Linked DNA regions of Homo sapiens: region 2 is linked to region 1. The links are contacts of gene promoters, found by promoter capture Hi-C in human tissues and cell types (Jung and others, 2019). All regions are on one chromosome and are shown on one strand. The core of a region is centred on a gene start or on the middle of the fragment in contact, and the rest is flanking DNA. Distances in the headings are between cores, read along the strand shown.

Evidence for each region. The method cuts DNA at HindIII sites, captures the fragments that hold promoters and counts their contacts. A contact is called where the count stands out against the background at its distance.
Region 2: a contact is called between a fragment that was not itself captured here and the fragment with the promoter of C8orf48 in region 1, in 2 of the 25 tissues and cell types used here (aorta and mesenchymal stem cells).

The regions. Positions count from the first base shown.
Region 1 is chr8:13,564,464-13,570,344 of GRCh38, reverse strand. It overlaps C8orf48 (chromosome 8 open reading frame 48), which reads right to left and starts at 3,476. Exons shown (of 1, transcript NM_001007090.3): 1 at 2,057-3,476. The coding sequence starts at 3,353. The coding sequence ends at 2,394. It also overlaps a transcript of DLC1 not described here. The HindIII fragment of the contact is 18,894 bases long and covers 1-5,881 here.
Region 2 is chr8:13,088,940-13,094,820 of GRCh38, reverse strand. It overlaps DLC1 (DLC1 Rho GTPase activating protein), which reads left to right. Exons shown (of 18, transcript NM_182643.3): 12 at 1-62; 13 at 1,996-2,209; 14 at 3,389-3,503; 15 at 4,351-4,569. Among named protein-coding and RNA genes, the nearest start is that of TRMT9B, 150 kb to the right of the region's middle. RefSeq lists an enhancer at 3,756-4,955. The HindIII fragment of the contact is 3,549 bases long and covers 507-4,055 here.

The DNA.
Region 1 (5,881 bases), core at 2,227-4,726:
ACAATGTGCACAGGTACCCTAAAACTTAAAGTATAATAAAAAAAAAAAAAGAGAGAATTTAGGGGAAACAAATGTGCACATAGAAACCATAGTGACACAAAAGAGCTCAGGGAAGTAATGTAGAGACGCTTGAATATAGTGGGGAGGGATTACATGAGAATAGAAAGGTAAAGTTGGGCCAGATGTTAAAGAACCACTATGTGACCTTAATTAGTTTGAAATATTTCCATATCAGAGATAAACAACTTAGAGTTTTGTTTTGTTTTAAATCAACAGAATTACTTGAACAGATTTGTGTGTTAGAAAAATAATTCTGGGCTCCTGGGCACAGTGGCTCGTGCCTGCAATCCCAGCACTTGGGAAGGCTGAGACAGGAGGATTGCTTGAGCTCAGGAATTCCAGACCAGTCTGGGCAACATAGCAAAATTTCTCTACTGAAAATACAAATAAAGAAATTTAGCCAGGCGTGGCGGCACGCACCTGTAGTCCCAGCTGCTGGGGAGGCTGAGGTGAGAGGATCACCTGAATCCTAGAGGTTGAGGCTGCAGTAAGCAGTAATTGCACCACTGCATTCCAGCCTGGGTGATAGAGCCAGACCCTGTCTCAATAATAAATAAGTAACAAATTTAAAAAATAGTAATTCTGAGAACTGTATGCTGACATTTGGGAACTGTATGCTGAAAGTCTTGCTGAAAAATAGCTTGGGGTTGAGTTGAAAAATAAAAAGGAAGAACAAAAGATGACTCAGATTTCTAGCTTGGTTGACTAAAAGGGTGGAGCATGCCCTTTAATGGGGGAATTCTAAAGGGAAAATTATTCAGAATTTTGATTATGTAAAACATGAATATATTGAGATGTCAAAGATAAAGCATGACATAATATGGATTTCAAATAAAAGGTTATTATGAAAATGGTAATGGTTATTTTCCATTTAGAATGACTTACTAAGGGGAAATATGCTAAATTTTATGGGGGAAAAAAATAGTATCTTTATACATAAATGAAGGTCTTAACGCAAAGAGTAATACTGAAGTACAATACTAAAACTCTTCTGTGCTGATTTTTGCAAACAAATTTCTTTTTCACTGAGATAATTCAGGTGTTGGACATGTAGAAAAGTGATCTCCAGGTAATGCCACTAATTCCATGGTTTTATATTTTTATAGAGGAAATAGATAATAAATGGCTTCTCAGAATGCCATCTAACATTTTTCTCCATAAATGTGTTTTCAAAATGCCATGGTATTCCTTGTGGAATAATACTGTTTCCTCATTACATAAATTTGGATGAACAACAGAAGGTTCATAAAATCTTCACGACCAAAATGGCTATCTAGATAATTTGTTTAAGCGTTCTTCTCTCAAAACTCAACACCTAACCCCAGCTTTACTTCTTCTTCCCCTTACAGCTAAATATTTCAAGGAGTACCCTATATCCATTCATTATTTACTTACATTTTTCCTCAATCTATTTTGTCTGCCCCATTTGTATAAGTGAAATGGCTTTTGCTAAGGTCAGCAGTGCCCAATACATGACTAAATCATCTTTACATGGCTTCTCTGTTGATTGATGTGGTTAGACAACTATCCTTCTTTAAATATTCATTCCTTAGCATCTATGACACTATACATTCCTGATTTCCTTGATCCACTTGATAACTTTTTTCACAATCTTTTCTGCAGGTTTATTTTTCTCTACTTAGCCATTAATTGGCATTTCTCAAGAGTTTGTATCAACCCTGCTTCTCTTCTTATTCATTTCCAAAAACGCTTGACAATCTACGGCTTCAACTTCCAGCTATATGCCATTGATCCCCACCCTTCCCCCAGTCCTACCCCAATTTATTTTGCACCTCTAGGCTATACCTTTCCTCTGAAGCGCAAAAACAAATAATCAAATGTTTCTTCAAACTGTCAATGTGTATGTCCCAAATGCACCTTATATGTCCAAATAATCATACTCTTCAACAGTTCCATCAAACATAGTCCTCTTCTGGTGTTCCTGTCTTAATGAAATTAATGATCATTCATCCGGGCGCACAAGTCAGAGCCTTAATAACATTTCAAACATCTACTATTTATTAATTCCCCATAGCCATTTGATCGCCAAAGACAGTTATTACTTTTTAAGTTTCTCTTACATCCCCATACTACTTTGCTTCTGTACCATCAACATCCTGGCCCAAACTACCAACATAGTTCTCTTGGAATTTTGTAAAAGTTTTTATAACTATTCCAACTACAACAGTGCCTTCTATAATAGGAAAAAAAAAGTGAAAGTTCTTAGTCCTCAAATCTGTGAAGGAAGCATAGTAAAGTCTTAAGTTAGTTTCCCAAGTGCCTGTAGAAATTATGGTAATTACTCAAATACACAACAAAGACATCTATCCACATTACACATTATCATTAACAATCACCAGCTCTGGTTTGATTAGAGTAAGTCGCTTGAGAAATGGCAGAGAAAATGGTAAATGACAAGCACTATTTCCATCTCGCTGCAACTTCTGCTCTGTCTCTGATCTTTCAAAACCAGAGTATCTGATATGACTTTTCTCAGTCAGTCTTTTCCAGATTATTCTGGGGTCATCTGAAAGCCTGGGAAAGTCTTGATGTGCTTCTCCAATACGGGTGAGAAAGTCTTTGGTATGAAGATGTTCATCTATTCTCTCTTGGAGTAGAAATGACTCCAGTAAAGTCTTCTTTTGTTTCAGAAAGGCAGACAGGGCCAGCTCCGCTCTTTTCCTGTTACAATAGGGACACTGATAAGATATGTGTTGCTTAGCTGCTGCCTCCTGTTTTGGCGTTGTCCTCATGTTTTTAAAGTAGATTCTGTTCAAAAGTTCATCGGGTACAGTACAACTAAAGGCATCTCTCTCTGAAGCCTCTACATCCAATCCAAGATGCAGCTTTTTATGTCTGCTGCTCGTCTTCTTCTTAGAATCCCCTCTACGATGAATCAAATTTATCTTCATGGTGCAATAAGACTGCAGGGCATTCAATTCTTCATCTGATACCCGAGTGATTTCTGTTGGAAGTTTGGTGTCTGGTTGGTGCCGTTCAAAGTTAGAGTCTTTGAGCTTGAGGTAGTTGATCCATTTTTTACTCAACTTCTTTTCATAATTTTTATAGTCCAAAAGCTCAGATTGTGTGTCTCCTTGTTCCAAGCTTGGAGTCTGCTTTTCCCTCTCCAGTTTGCTCCCAGAGGTCAGGGGCGAGGACTGCCGTCCTCCAGAGGAGCTGAATGAGCTGGAAGTCTGTACCTCATCAGTAGAGTTCTTCAAAGTCTCAGTCTCATCAGAAAGGTTTGCAAGAGCACTTTTGTCCGTTTGGGCCAATTCTGGGCAGATGGCCATCACAATGCATCAGGCTCGGCTCCTCATCTCCTTTGCCCAGGTTAAGACTGGCTCAGGAACCCGTCAGGAGCTGACCCCTCCGGGAATGGATCTCAATGCCATCAGCTCTGCGGAGGTCGTCTTCCGGGAGACGCCTTCCCAGCTGTCTTGGCAACGCGGGCCGCTCATGCGCAGTGACTGGCCACCATGCGGCGTCCCGCCTTTTCCTCCGCGCTCCCCAGCGCCCACTGCGCTTGCGCTGCTTGCGCCGGGTTGGCGATTTTGCCCTGTCTTCTGCACTCCTGCTTCTCTTTGGTGCTAAAGTCGAGTAGTCAACGGGAAAACCTTGCAAACTCTGTTTCCCAGGGGTCAGACAGGTGGCACACGTGTGTGAGACCAATAGAGTTAGGTGGCCTGTGACAAATCCGAACGTGTACGCCCGCCTAAATGCATCTAGATTTAAAAATCAAGCAAAACGCGCTGGACAAGATGCACAAGCAAAAACTTGTCTGCAGTGTTTATAGCCAAGAGACACCTCCTTGTAGAGCATGTCTTTGGGGAAAAGTCAAAATACAGAAACCATTCTGTAAGAAGTAGTGTTCTGTGCTCCAGCATTCTGAGGACCTCGAAGTTTGGGCGGGGTCGGGGGTGGGGAGCAGGGGCGGGGGAGGACCTTAATTTTCCAAATCAGTTTCTCTGGCCTTTTGTCCATACAGGTCCCCTCTGGCTAGCATATCCACGCCCGTCCTCACTCTTAATATCGTTAATTTATCCTCCTCCTCCGAGTCCCATTTCCTCAGGAAGGGCTTAATACCCACCCCTGCCTTAAACTCTTTCCAGCATTTTTTTTTAAATAGTGTCCAACTATGTGATTGTATGAGTATCTGATTATGAAGGCTGAAGGCAGAAATCATGTCGGTGTTGCCGACTAGTATGAGCCCAGCAATCAGCAGACACATAGCAGGTGTTCAAGAAATCTCTGTTGAGTGAATGGCTATGGAACAAATAAATCTTACCTTACACACGTCCAGAGGATTTGGAGAAATAAGTACTATAAGTTCAGGGAACTCTAACCTTTTTTCTAACTGAATCCCCAAACTTAGGCTATTACACAGGATATATTTTTTATTAATGGATTCATTTAAAAAACACAGTAGAGTTTTATTAATTATCGTGAGAAATTATAAAATGTTAACTCTAGAGATGGACTTTTCCTAGGTTATAATAGTTCTTGAGTCTAGGACTTAGTCAATGTCTAGGATAATTTTAAGAGCCTAGACACCCTTCTTTCTCAGTTTTGTCTCTCTCTCTCTTTCTTCCTGTGTTTCTTGGGGATTGGGGGGTATTATTCAGGTCTAGCCAGATATATTCCCCAAATGTTCATTCTGGCAAAAAGTGAAAGTCAAATATTCAAAAAGCATCTCTCAAGTATATGAGCCAGCTTCCTGTTGAAGATAAGGAGACTCCAACTTCATTTATTCAACCCAAATTTTATTTTATCATATAATGGTAGTCTTTAAAAAAGAGGTGGCATGTAATTTGTGAGTAACTCCAAGTAATTTCCAATAGGGCTCAATATTTTCCTTATTTATTATTTCAAATCTCTGCCTCATTCTCTGAATATTTACACATTCATATTTACACACTATTCATGTTTTAGCTATATCTTATCCATAACATTGAACAAGGGAGCTATACTTAAAATAAAATCTATCTGTGTCTTCTAACATGCCAAATGTCTGGGGTAATCTGTCTTTTTTATAATCGTGTCTTAAATTTCTCTTGATTTTTAAAAATAACTTTATCCTAGAAGGAGATATATGTGGGTGGGAAATTCTATAATTAATTTCCTTGTAATATTCAGCGTGACCCAGTGGACAGTTTTACATTCTAGTAAGTGTGTTATCTAAGGAAGAAAATTTCTCAACAGTACTATATTTATCAAATAAGATTCATGAAAACACAGGTCAAAGTTTGATTTTAAACAAATATGAAGAGTAATAGTTTTCCTTTGGAAATCTCAATCTTCTTGCCATCTCTCAGGGGCTGTTGGGAATGTCAAAATGCTTTGTGGACCAAGCTGTGGCTGAAGGCTGCTTGTGGTGGGGATTGGGAGATATGAAGAATAGAAAAGAGAGTCCAGTCAGGCTCTCTTGGCCTAACCTTGCTATGCCCCTCCTGTTACTGTTCTGCAGCTACTTTCTCTTCTTCCTAGTTCCTATCAGAGAGCAGGGCCAAGGGTCTTCTCCCAGCTTTTTCCTTAATGATCAAGAATGCTTTGCAGCTATAAGGCCAACCCCAGAAAGAGGAAGTCAAAACAAATTCATGATTCCCCTTCTCTCTTGCTTTCCTTTCCTATGGAGGGAGAAAAGCAAACTTTCAGCATCTGTCACTCTGGCAAGCAATTCTCCCCCCAGATATCATAAACGTTTCCATGATGAGTTGGCATTTGGCAGGTACCTCTTCCTGGTGGTGTGCAGTGTACAAAGTGGGAGTCTAGTTTAAGTATAAGAGAGACTACGATGACAGAGCCTTCAAAAATATTCTAC
Region 2 (5,881 bases), core at 1,032-3,531, 470 kb after region 1:
AGATCTTCCTGAGCCACTAATGACGAACAAACTCTCGGAAACCTTTCTACAGATCTACCAATGTGAGTGTCCTTTGATCTTAAGATTGTTGGCATTGGGGAAAAATGGGACCAACTGAAGCTTGTAGCTTCCTTGATAGCATTCTTTTTTTTTTTGAGATGGAGTCTCGCTCTGTCATCCAGGCTGGAGTGCAGTGGCGTGACCTCGGCTCACTGCAACCTCTGCCTCCCAGGTTCAAGCGATTCTCCCACCTCAGCCTCCCAAGTGGCTGGGACTACAGGAGGGCGCCACCACGTCTGGCTAATTTTTGCATTTGTAGCAGAGATAGGGTTTCACCATATTGGCCAGGATGGTCTCGAACTCCTGACCTCAAGTGATCCTCCCACCTCGGCCTCCCAGAGTGCTAGGATTACAGGTGTGAGCCACCACGCCTGGCCTTGATAGCGTTCTTTTGACAAGAGAGTCTGCATGGTGACCTCTTGGAAACCCATGTCATCACCTTCTTCCTTGCCGCCTTGTTTGTGGAACAGGTTTCTGTGTAATTATTGAATGATGTGAAAATAAATTTCCCAGTCTCTAATGACTGATGCAATTGTACGTTTTTACGTGCAAAATGAAAAGTTAGACTTTCATTAGTTTCTAGAACAGTGTTATCTGAGCTGGTCAGATAAAGATCAGGTACGAAGATCTCTTTCTGTCTCCACCTTGTCTACAGAAATTTCAGTTGCTTCACACCCCTCTTGGAGGGCCGTTGGATTTAAAATTTCACAGGTGTCTGTGTGTTTTATCTTGCTGTAAAATGAATAAATAATCTTTTTCTGTTATTCATCTCAGTCTCTGCCAGAAATACTTGGGAGAACAATACCCATGCCCTTCTTACTTTTATGTAAAGCTTAAAGAAAACAGTTGTCGAAATTAATGATCAAGATCAGGATTATGGCTTTTACAGCCTTGTGTTTTTCTTGGCTCAGTGTGGTATTACAGCAACGTAATTTAAAAGCAGCCTCTCTTAGCGCTCAAATTGTCTCTAGGATTGGCACAGTGGACTTTATTTTATGAGAAATGGAGCTGGTCTGGATTATTTCATTGGTTGTTTCATCCTTTCATATTTTATAAAAACACAGGTCACATTTTCCTCACCGAGGTATTTGTTATGTGCTGTAACCATGGAGCTGTTTAATCAGTTTGTCCTATGGAGCTACATTTGAGTGACTTGATTTTTCCACCACATGCTCTTTTAAAGAGTTATGTATTCAAGGAGACCTGAAGATCGGGATCAGCATTTTCTACCTGTAGATTGTTTATGGGTTTATTTGCATTTTTATATATTTGCATATTCATATGCATTTTTATAGCCTCTCGAGCATGCTTTCTAAAACTTAAGAAATTACTAATTCAGTGTGTTTTATTTATTAATTGAACTGAACTGAATATTTTCAGTTCAGTTCAATTCAGAACTGAATATTTTAGCAGCTTTTCCCACTTCAAGAAGGAACAAATCAGTTAAACTCATGCAAATCTCCAGAGATACTGAACATTTTGTACTCAAGGCTGAGAGATCTCTGTTCTTACGTTCTTGTACATATCTCAGATAAGATTTTTCATCAACACTAAACAAAAGTGTATAGTGTTTTCAGTAATTGAGATTGATAAATTAGGGATTTTTTTTTTTCATGCTTAGGAAAGAAAAAACTGTTCTGTAAACTAAAAGAGCAGGCATCCTCTAGAGCCGAACTCTGAGGTGGATTTAAGAGTGTTTGGGTATTGTGGGTGTTTAAAAATTTTTTCACTCCTTCATGAGGCAGGAAATACTTGAGGATAGTGACGCCGGTGGCAATTCATAACTTTTACCGTATTAACCTCTAGTGCACTTTCTACAAGTGCTTGTTCAGTACTGGGCTGAGGTATTTGATGCCGATATTTGCTCTGGGACATTTCCTTGCAATGTCCATGCAAATTCACCAAGCTGATGGAGAAAGTGCTGGTGTCGTGCAGATGTGCCCAAGGACCAGCGCCTGCAGGCCATCAAGGCTGCCATCATGCTGCTGCCTGACGAGAACCGGGAGGTTCTGCAGACCCTGCTTTATTTCCTGAGCGATGTCACAGCAGCCGTAAAAGAAAACCAGATGACCCCAACCAACCTGGCCGTGTGCTTAGCGCCTTCCCTCTTCCATCTCAACACCCTGAAGAGAGAGAATTCCTCTCCCAGGTACGGGCTGCATGGGAGGTGCATGCACACAGGGGGCAGCCTACATTCTTCCTAGGACTCTCCGTAGCTGTGGTTTTGTGGGACTCTTTCCTGAAACAAGCAAGAAGGTTAGACCGCTATATTAGTCCATTCTCACACCGCTAATAAAGACATACCTGAGACTGGTCTGTTGGCGTGCATGAGAAAATAGTCTCACTGGACTTAACCCCCACAGACAAAATCCATCGAACTGATCCTTTTCCTCAGCTCTAAAGGAACTTGAAAAGTATTTCTTAGCTAGAGGCCTGGGGCCTAGTTATGCTAGTGCAGGTTAGGTTGCTTCTGAAAGTCATATAATGTTTAAATGTATGTTTAAATAGTTCCTTTTGAGACAGAGTCTTGCTCTGTTGCCCAGGCTGGAGGGCAATGGCACGATCTCAGCTCACTGCAACCTCTGCCTTCCAGGTTCAAGCCATTCTCCTGCCTCAGCCTCCCGAGTAGCTGGGACTATAGGTGCCTGCCACCACGCCCAGCTAATTTTTATATTTTTAGTAGAGACGGGGTTTCACCATGTTGGCCAGGCTGGTCTCGAGCTCCTGACCTTATGATCCACCCGGCTTAGCCTCCCAAAGTGCTGGGATTACAGGCGTGAGCCACTGCGCCCGGCCACATTTAAATAGTTCTTAAAGTTGACTGGGGCATTCCAACTGCAATGGGATACAGAGCTAGAGATGAGTAGAGGAGAGAGATCAAATAAGATGAAGACAAAAGGTCAAGGAAACAATGGACTTAGCCCTCACCTGTGGGAGGGGGCCTGTGTATTCAGGCAGATAAAGATGATGACACCCTTTACTCCAACTCCCTGGGACTCCTTTCCCACACTCCTCAGAAGTTGCTCCCCCACCATGCAAACACAGCCCCTACAAGCTGCCCTGTTCCCAGTAGGAACCTATTTAATTAAATGGTTTGAATCACCTGGATTTCATCAAAAGCATATCTCTTTAATGTTTTTTTGTGTGTTGTTGACAAAACTCTGAGATACTCTGGTGACCAAAGTAAAAACACTCTTAATCCACTTAACAATAAACAGATTCCAGTGAAAATTTTTTTTTCTCTCTTCTTTGGGTTTCCTTGAATAATACCTTGAAGAAAAATATATAAATATTTGAACTGTTCCCCTCCTGTATTTCTTCTACCTAGGGTAATGCAAAGAAAACAAAGTTTGGGCAAACCAGATCAGAAAGATTTGAATGAAAACCTAGCTGCCACTCAAGGGCTGGCCCATATGATCGCCGAGTGCAAGAAGCTTTTCCAGGTAAGGAATTGAGAAGTTTGGCTCCTTTATTAAGGATAATGTGAATAGGTACAAAATCTTAGGCTTGACCCTTGTTCATGTCTTACCTGAAGACCTTTTCCACAGCTGGAGACGGTATAAATAGCCTGAGAATGTCTTATTTACATATATTATAATGTATCAGCTAGAGTTAATCATGTTTAATGAAATTGTCCCTTTACTTGGAAAAGCAGCCGGGCGCAGTGGCTCACGCCTGTAATTCTAACACTTTGGGAGGCTGAGGTGGGTGGATCACTTGAGCTCCGGAGTTCAAGACCAACCCGGGCAACATGGTGAGACCTCATCTCTACAAAAAAAAATTTAAAAATTAGCCGGGTGTGGTGGTGCACACCTGTAGTCTCAACTACTTGGGAGGCTGAGGTGGGAGGATCACCTGAGCCCAGGGATGTGGAGGTTGCAATGAACCAATATTTTGCCACTGCACTCCACTAGGTAACAGAATGAAACTCTCTCTCAAAAAAAAAAAAAAGAAAGAAAGAAAGAAAAAGCAACAAATTATCTGGAATTAAACTGCTGTATCCACTTCCGTATCTGAGAAACCTGCTTTGACCAATGTAATTCACTCCCCCTACTCTAACTTTCCAAAGACCTTACATGGAAATAAGATTTCAGATACATTTATGGAGGTGATCTGTTCATATCCTCGTGATAACACGTGCGGTCAGCATGATAGCCCACCTCCGGCGGGAAGATGCCTGCACTGCTTTAAGGACCAGGCCATTGTTCCTACCCAGTCTTTTCCACTGATGGGCATTGAGATTGAGTACAGGTGGACTCACCTCCTTTCTGTCTGTCATGTTCCGCACAGGTTCCCGAGGAAATGAGCCGATGTCGTAATTCCTATACCGAACAAGAGCTGAAGCCCCTCACTCTGGAAGCACTCGGGCACCTGGGTAATGATGACTCAGCTGACTACCAACACTTCCTCCAGGACTGTGTGGATGGCCTGTTTAAAGAAGTCAAAGAGAAGTTTAAAGGCTGGGTCAGCTACTCCACTTCGGAGCAGGCTGAGCTGTCCTATAAGAAGGTAAGGCTTCACCCTGTTGTCGGCTAGTTGAGTCCAGGAGTCGAAGCTTGGGTCCATCAGAGATAACACGCTTTTGCCAACTAATCTGTCTGGGGATCTGTAGCCCACAACCTCCCTTGTAGAGCTGGGCACCGGGGTGAGTAAGATCCCCGTGGTGAGAGTGGAAACCGGGCAAAGCAAGAGTAATTTTCTTCCTGTGTAACACTTGGGAGAGGATTTCAACTATTTCTAATGAACTCCTTTGGCTCTACAGAATCACACTAGACTTCCCTAGAATGTTTTGCTAATGGCATTGAGATGCGGAACATCCTATGACACGCTTCGATTTTTCCATAATTTGGTCAGAATCCCTTTGCACTCTTCTCTGTTCTTAGTTACTGTTCTCTTGGCCCTTTAATGAGCGGGGATCCCTTAGGGGGAAATTAACTCCAGTTAGGACTGGTAAACCTCTTGAGGGCAGAGGCATCTTGTAAGGCTCAGCAGGATAGGTCCATCGGAGGTATATGTTGATGCCGCCTCTACCATCTTGAAAATAAACAAACAGTGGGAGTAGGCTGGGTGGCCTTGCCGGCTTTGGAAATGAGTGCAAATGTCTGATGTTTTTGTTTTTATTTATTTATATTTTTTGAGATGGAGTCTTGCTCTGTCACCCAGGCTGGAGTGCAGTGGCATGATCTCGGCTCACTGCAACCTCTGCCTCCCGGTTTCAAGCTATTCTCTTGCCTCAGCCTCCCGAGTAGCTGGCGCTACAGGTGCCCACCACCACGCCATGCTAATTTTTGTATTTTTAGTAGAGACGGGGTTTCACCATATTGGCCAGGCTGGTCTCGAACTCCTGACCTTGTGACTGCCCACCTTGGCCTCCCAAAGTGCTGGGATTATAGGCGTGAGCCACCATGCCCTGCCAGTGACTGATATTTCTTTATTGCATGCACTCTGATATAGGTCCCAGAAAAAAAAAAACAAATGTCATCATTTTTTTCTTTTTTCTTTTGAGATGGAGTTTCATTCTCATCACCCAGGCTGGAGTGCAGTGGTGTGATCTCAGCTCACTGCAAAGTGCCTCCTAGGTTCAAGTGATTCTCCTTCCTCAGCCTCCTGAGTAGCTGGACTTACAGGTGCCTGCCACCACGCCTGGCTAATTTCCATATTTTTAGTAGAGACAGGGTTTCACCATGTTGGCCAGGCTGGTCTTGAACTCCTGACCTCAGATGATCCACCCGCCTCGGCTTCCCAAAGTGCTGGGATTACAGGAATGAGCCACTGCACCCGGCTCAAATGTCATCATTTTGACTCGAGTTGACAACAGCTT